Regions from separate parts of the Homo sapiens genome. Here all the other regions are linked to region 1. Evidence: promoter capture Hi-C in 16 types of primary human blood cells and fetal thymus (Javierre and others, 2016). All regions are on one chromosome and are shown on one strand. Each heading gives the region's core, a stretch centred on a gene start or on the middle of the fragment in contact. The rest is flanking DNA. Distances are from core to core; before and after follow the strand shown.

Evidence for each region. Contacts are between HindIII fragments. The CHiCAGO score rates a contact against its expected background, and 5 or more counts as called.
Region 2: a fragment that was not itself captured here is called in contact with the fragment with the promoter of WSB1 in region 1 in 1 of 17 cell types (fetal thymus); the score reaches 8.0 in fetal thymus.
Region 3: a fragment that was not itself captured here is called in contact with the fragment with the promoter of WSB1 in region 1 in 1 of 17 cell types (fetal thymus); the score reaches 6.0 in fetal thymus.

What each region holds. Positions count from the first base shown.
Region 1 is chr17:27,292,852-27,295,371 of GRCh38, reverse strand. It overlaps WSB1 (WD repeat and SOCS box containing 1), which reads right to left and starts at 1,258. Exons shown (of 9, transcript NM_015626.10): 1 at 937-1,258. The coding sequence starts at 976. MIR4522 (microRNA 4522) reads left to right here and starts at 1,376; the gene lies at 1,376-1,462. RefSeq lists enhancers at 980-1,039, 1,050-1,109, 1,480-1,529 and a silencer at 1,230-1,439. The HindIII fragment of the contact is 5,795 bases long and covers 342-2,520 here.
Region 2 is chr17:21,038,651-21,041,170 of GRCh38, reverse strand. All of the region lies in intron 1 of USP22 (ubiquitin specific peptidase 22), which reads left to right. Among named protein-coding and RNA genes, the nearest start is that of USP22, 3.1 kb to the left of the region's middle. The HindIII fragment of the contact is 633 bases long and covers 947-1,579 here.
Region 3 is chr17:21,278,504-21,281,023 of GRCh38, reverse strand. No RefSeq gene overlaps it. Among named protein-coding and RNA genes, the nearest start is that of MAP2K3, 4.9 kb to the left of the region's middle. RefSeq lists an enhancer at 938-1,017. The HindIII fragment of the contact is 320 bases long and covers 1,105-1,424 here.

The sequences.
Region 1 (2,520 bases), core at 9-2,508:
AACTCCTCCTTGTACTTAGTAAAGGCACACATTCACTTCAAGAGTAGGAAAATGTAAATGCTCTCTGCTCAGCGGCCGCAGCTAATTATTACTTCACACAGTAAGATCAGTGTTTGCTAAGTGTTATCAGCCAATGTACAGCACCCCCCAACACCGTCAAACGTTGTTCCAGTTATTTTACTTTAAAAGAGGATTTAAATAATGCGACGTGCTTTCCACTGAGCCACTAAGTAGGTGTGGACGCACAACCTTCAACACTAATTGCCCTTTACTAAGCCGACCAGGGCTAGACACTAAGCCAGAAAAGCCTTTTCCAGAGTTTCCTCTTCCGCACAAAAGCTTTCCTTCTGTCACTCCACCCAACCACCCAGCTCCTCCCTTAAGTGTTTGAAAGATAATTCTAAAAGTCTCCTCCCCCGAACCGCTGCGTTTCTTAAGGCCACACCATTTTAAAAATACTGTATTGCTTTTGCCAGGCTGTTGGGACCTCTTCCATCTCATTTCTATCTAAGAGTGGTTGGTACACACGAGGACCCCCTCCTTTCATTACCGCTTACAACCCACAAGTTTACTTTTCCCCATTGTAAACCTAAAGTCCCTGAGTGGCCCTTCCCTGTCCACTCGACAGTCATGCCCTGAGCCAAGAACTCCCAGGACAAGAGCCCTGCGCGGACCTCCGACGAAGAAACCGGGGTCCTTGCCCGCCCCAGCCACACAGCAACCGCGAGGGAGCACAGTAGGTGCTGCATCCACGTCGGTGCCGTTTACCCCTCAGCCAACTCCCACCGAGGCGGCTTCCTCCTCCTCGCTAGTGGGCTGGCCCTGGCGCACTGGAGCTCTTCCCTCAGACTTGGAGTCGCTTCCTCCCAAACCTCCTCCGGGGAGTCCCTGCCTCTCCTCGGCCCTCATGCGCCCACCCACGGTCCCAATCCTCACCGATCTCTTTCTCGTTGACCCTCGGGGGAAAGCTGGCCATCTATGGGGCACCGTCTGATTCCGGGAATACGATGCGGACCCAACAACAGAGAAGAGAGTGGCGACCGCTGAGGGGCGTGACGCCAAGTTGGTCCCTCCCGGGCCCAGGGACAGAGGAGACGGGCGGGGGCGGCCGCTGCGGCTTCTGCTAACTGCCTCGGGAAAGCTCCCGAAGGCCTCAGACCAAAGTACGGAGTCAACCACAGACAATAGACCCTGTACCCAGCCTCGCGCCTGCGGAGGAAGACAGTTCCCCTAAAGCGCCGACTGCAAACGAGACACTGGAGTCAAAATGGCGGGCGGCGCCGGAGATATCTGGGCGGCAGGGGCGCGGCCACGTGACGTCACAGCCCGAGGCCCCCGCCTCCCGACGCACGGGACGTGATCTCCCCGGCCCGGCGCGGGCGTTGCCTGGGGGCCTCGCAGGGGGAGATCCAGCCCAGGCTGGTTCCGCTGACTCTGCCTGTAGGCCGGTGGCGTCTTCTGGGCCTGGATGGTCTAATATGGAGTTTATAAGCTGAAGTGGCTTTGAAAAGGGCAAGCAGAGAATTGTATTATTATTAGCCTCCTAGCTTAAAGATTGCATGGAACTTAAACTGGCTGAACCAAAAGAACAAAAAGACATTTCAGGTTTTCACTCAATTTGGCCAACTCCCCAGCCCACAAGTAATAGGGAACTGAAGGATGCACTGATGAAAAAGACAGGATGAAAATTAACATCGTTGTGCACCACCTGTCCAGCTGCGATTGTTCAGACCTGAGCCAGCAGGTTTTAGGAAGGGCCGAGGGGAACGAGAAGGAGACTCGGGCGTGATCGCGCCGCACCGCGCCGCGGGGCCTCTCTGGACTGCCTTTGTCCTGGCCAAGATGGATCCCACTGTCCTGGCCAAGATGGATCCCACTGTGTCAGCTCAGAATTGGCCCTTCCTCCACCTTACCTGAAGGCCTCTGGGAGGCACCTAGTTGTCCACACATCAGACTGATAAATGTGTCAGTATCTGCTAGATGCCAGCTTGGTTCCCGGTCACAGATGACGTATTTGCATTTTAATGGCTTCTCGTGTGGACCCTAAACATTGCAAAGGCCTGGGGCGTATAAGACTGGGAATTCAAATATGTGGCAGATATTCATGGGACAGAGTAGAGTGTTGCATAGCCGCTTTTTTTTTTTTTTTTTTTTTTTTTTTTGAGACGGAGTCTCGCTTCTCCCAGGCTGGGGTGCAATGGCGTGATCTTGGCTCACTGCAACCTCCGTTTCCCGGGTTCAGGCAATTCTCCTGCCTCAGCCTCCCCAGTAGCTGGGATTTGTACAGGCATGTGACACCAAGCCCGGGTAATTTTTGTATTTTTAGTACAGAGGGCGTTTCACCCTGTTGGCCAGGCTAGTCTCGAACTCCTGGCCTCGAGTGATCCGCCCGCCTCAGCCTCCCAAAGTGCTGGGATTACAACGTGAGCCACCACGCCCGGCTGCATAGCCGCTTTTAAGAGATCTCAAATGATAACACTGTAGGGCATGTTTACTTCATCTTTTCTTTGCATGAGTGTA
Region 2 (2,520 bases), core at 14-2,513, 6.3 Mb after region 1:
TGGCTGACGCCTGTAATCCCAGCACGTGGGGAGGCCGAGGGGGGCAGATCACGAGGTCAGGAGTTCGAGACCAGCCTGGCCAACATGGTGAAACCTCATCTCTACTAAAAATACGAAAAGTAGCCGGGTGTGATGGCGGGCGCCTGTAATCCCAGCTACTCCAGAGGTTGAGGCAGGAGAATCACTTCAACCCGGGAGGCGGAGGTTGCAGTGAGCAGTGATCGCGCCACTGTACTCCAGACTGGGTGACAGAGCAAGACCCCCTCCGGAAAAAAAAAAAAAAGGGTGGCCTGGTTGAAGCCAGTCTTCTACAGGGAATGTGCTGTTGCTACTCTGGGTCAGTAGTGTCCGGATTGGGACGTGACGCGCCCAAGATTTGTTACTACTTTGGATGAAGTGGGGACCGCCCCACTCTTCCTCTCCCTCCTTTTCTTTTTCCGTTCCCTCCCTCCCTCTCCCTTTCTTCCCCCCTCTGGTATTTTTTAACCAAATAGAAGGAGTCAAGTTTAAACCATCATTAACTAACTTTGCCTAATTTCCTAAAGTTAAGAATTACTTTTTTTTTTTGCGCTACTTATGGCTCTGATTAATCTTTTAATTTCAGATGTCAGTTGCTTAGTTTCAAAACTGTTGAGCCACATGTATGTTATTCACCAATTAGAAGTTGAACTGTAGTCGGGTAGTGAAAAATATTTCTTTCAAAATTTAGGTGGGGGCTGCTGCAGTGCCAGTTGGCAGTGTGCCAGCAAGGAGCCCTTAAGCCCTCCATGCTTTTTCCTCTGACTGGGGGGACTTATTTACCTGTATCACTTCATGTGCGGTGTCCTGCATTTCTAGCACTCTCTAGTGGCCCAGTTAAGGAAGAGTTGGTTTGGGAAATAGTTTAACAAACCTGATGATTAACAGTTGGACAATCTGCATAGGATTTCCATCAGATCTGTAAGCTTAGGACATTTTGTTTTTTAAATTTTATTTTATTAAAAATTATTTTTTGTAGAGACAGAGTCTTGCTCTGTTACCCAGGATGGAGTGCAATGGTCTGGTCAGTGATCACTGCAGCCTCAGATTCCTGGACTCCAGCCTCTCCTGAGTAGCTGGGACTACGGGCGTGTGTCACCACGACCGGCTAATATTTGTAGAGACAGTGTCTCACTATATTGCACAGGCTGGTCTTGAACTCCTGGACTCAAGCCATCCTCCTGTCTCCCAGAGTGCTGGGATTACAGGCCAGAGCCACTGAGCCCAGCCATATTTTTGGTTTTAATGATATGAACTTGACTGTAAAAGTACTTTAAGCTGATGATTGTGCCACTGTACTCCAGCCTGGACAACAAAACCTATCTCAAAACAAACTTCAACTTGAATTATAATCTTTGTAAACAAACAAAGGTACTTTTTGAGATGGACATCTCAGGTACAGTTTAAAGAAATGAATCCCTGAATGAATAGGAATTACGAGTTTTGTTATCTAAGGACAGATGGATTATGCATTTTGTACCCAAACTTTGATTCTTCTTTTAACAGGCAGAACATGACAAAAACATGACCAGGCTTGATAAATTTCTGTCCAAAAGAAGCTTGAATTGCAGTAAAACTCTGTTTTTTGAGATGGGGTTTTCACTCTTTTTGCCCAGGCTGGAGGGCAATGGCGTGATCTCGGCTCACCACAGCCTCCCCCTCCAGGGTTTAAGTGATTCTCCCAAGTAGCTGGGATTACAGGCATGCGCCACCATGCCTGGCTAATTTTGTATTTTTCGTAGAGATGGGGTTTCTTCATGTTGGTCAGACTGGTCTCGAACTCCCAACCTCAGGTGATCCGCCCATCTTGGCCTCCCAAAGTGCTGGGATTACAGGCATGAGCCACCGCGCCTGGCCCGAATTGCCATAAAACTCTTGTATTGCAGACTATAAAAATATTTCTGCCGGGCATGGTGGCTCACGCCTGTAATCCCAGCACGTTGGGAGGCCGAGGCGGGCGGATCACGAGGTCAGGAGATCGAGACCATCCTGGCTAACACGGTGAAACCATGTCTTTACTAAAAATACACAAAATTAGCTGGGCATGGTGGCACGCGCCTGTAATCCCAGCTACTCGTGAGGCTGGGGCAGGAGAATCGCTTGAACCAGGGAGGCGGAGGTTGCAGTGAGCCGAGATCGCACCACTGCACTCCAGCCTGGGCGACAGAGCGAGACCGTCTCAAAAAAAAAGAAAAAAACTATTTCCATGATTTAGGACTGGCACGACCACAGTGGCGTCTCCTTTGTGTTTTTGGTGTGTGTTAAATATAACAAATTTCTTACCATTTCAGGGTTTGTCTGTAAAGATAGGAACTGGCAGGAAGTGATTATGATTTAACATTCTACATTATATTTTGAATATAGACACTTTGGAGAACAGGTAATGTTTTTAAAACCATTTCTCTCTTTGAATCTAAAATTTTATGGCACTGTGTCCTCAAAACACTTTTTTAAATTTTTTATTTTTTATGTATTTTTTTTTTTTTTGAGACAGGGTCTGTC
Region 3 (2,520 bases), core at 15-2,514, 6.0 Mb after region 1:
CAGACAAGCAAAATGCCTAAGTCAAATTATGTCAGGCCAGGCATGGTGGCTCACACTTATAGTCCCAGCAGTTTGGGAGGCCGAGGCAGGTGGATCGTTTGAGCCCAGCAGTTTGAGACCAGCCTGGGCAACATGGCAAAACCTCGTCTCTACAAAAAAAAAAAAAAAAAAAAGTTGGCTGGGTATGGTGGCATGCTGCTCAGGAGGCTGAGGTGGGAGGATCACTTGAACCCAGGAGGTCAAGGCTGCAGTGAGCCAAGGTTATACCACTGCACTCCAGCCTGGCGGGCAACAAGACCCTGTCTCAAAAAACAAAAAATTATTACAAATGCTATGGGGGAAAGTAGGGGAGGGGACAGGGTGTGTGTCTGGACATGGGGGCTATAATTTTAAGGAGGGAGGTCAGGAAAAGCCTCCCTGGAAGGTGCCACATAAACAGAGACCAAAGGACTTAACGGAAGGACCCACAAAGAGATCCGGGGGAAAAGCATTCCAGGCAGAGGGAACAGTTGTGCAAGGGCCCTGAGGTGGATGGCTTGTAGGCGAGTAACAAGGAGACCGATGTGGCTGGGTGGTGGGAGCTGAGGAGTCCCTGTTCTCACCTATATACACCCCCTTGGACGTACTCACTCCCACGTGCCCCTTCACACCTGTGCAAGTCCACACACCCCAAATACACATGCACACACACATGACACAAGGGGGTGCACAAGTGTGTACGTTCATGTGGAGGGACCACATGGTCACGTCCACAGACACAACCCACAGGCACAGCGGTGCACATGGTCTATGCATAGCCTTGCCACCAGCTGGGGCCTCCACTGCTTGCTGCCCCACAGCGCCCTCTGGTGACCAGGGCCCGGCAGTGCTCTAGAGTGCCCAGGAGCACAGGATCCACTGCCCTCACTGCTTTGACGGCCATCCAGCCTCCTCTTCTCTGTGCTGCCTGCCCCCAGGCCTTCCACACTGCAGCCAGAGCCTTCCCAAACACGGCTGGCCAAGTTCTAAGTCCTGCCCTGGCTCCCTAGGCGGGCAACTTCCAACACTCCAACCCCTGGTGACTTCTCCAGACATCCCCCAGTCCAGCCACTCTGAATTCAAGCTTTCCTCTTTGAACCTTTCTTTGCAAAGGCTGTTCCCTTAGCCAGGAATGCCCTTCCCTACCTTCCGACCTGACACATTCCCTCCGCTCCTTCGAGGCCCAATTCTGAAGGTGGGACAGGAGGCCCTGCCTGACACTGCTCTGCCCAGTGCCCCTGCCCCAGCCCCTCTCACCATGGCTCACCCGCCCTGTCAGTGGCTGCGCCCCTGTCTGCCTCTCCCATACGACTCCTGCTGCTTGAAAGCAGGGCCTGTGACTGGTTCTCCCCAGAACAGCATCAGGCCATGCTGGTGATGGTGGAAAAGTGAAAACTTGAGAAGCTTGGAGGCAGCAATATGTGGTTCCTGAGCATCTTTTACTCAGGGGCCGGTTCTGAAGTCGAAATATAGAGAAGGAAACCTCAACGGAGGCTCACCTGCTTTCTTTAAATCATCATCACTCTCAAATATCAAAAGATGAATTCACACAAGTGACTGGCTCCACTAGCAAAACAGCAAGTCCTATTTTTACAGCTCCTACTATGTGCTAGTCCCTCCAAGCACAGCATCTTATGGACTCACTGTGATGCAAGCTGCACGGGGGCAATGCCTTTGCTTTGGTCACTGCAGTGTCTCCGGCACACAGTAGGTGCTCAGTGAATACTTGCGGAGTGGAGGAAAGTTTTCAATGTCCCAACGAGGTGTCTAGTATTATCATCATCTCCACTAAAGAGATGAGAAAATCGAGGCTCAGAGAGGTGCCCAGAAGCATCCAATACCGCTGGTAATGGCAGAGCTATTGTTTGAAATCTGTTCTGTCAGATGGAGATAGTTTTCCCTGCCTTTTCCTGCCCACACTTCCACTAAAGTGTTTTGCAACACCCTGCTTCCGAGCAAAACAAACTCCCCTTGAGCTCCCTTCACTGCTTTCTGGAAAGCCACCAGCTCTGCTTCTAACAGAGCAGTTGAGTCTGGCCTGCCCGGTTCCCTGCAGGGTTGCACGAACAACCCTGTGGCTGTCCCCAACACCAGTCCAGGGGTCCAAGGAGCCTCAGCATGGTGTCTCCCTGCCCAGGGTTCTCAAACTTAGCACTTCCTGCCCAGCAGGCAGGAGGCAGTCAAGGGGACAACACTTACTGGCACCTGTTGCATGCCAGGCCTCGTGACTTGACACACATCCCAGGGAAGTGGGTGTGGTTAGACTTTCATCTTACAGATGAAGAAACAGAAGCCCAAGGCTTCAAGCGCTTGCCCAGGTTCCACCACCAGGAAGGATGACACCAGATTTTTAACCCAGACCATCACTGTAACAGCCTACTGTGTGTCAGCCTTTTTAGTTCAATCCTGTGCTTCATTATCTAGATGCCAAGACCACAGGGCTGTTCTTATTGCCCCATGATGGGTGAGAAGTACTGCAGACACAGAGATGAAGCAACTTGC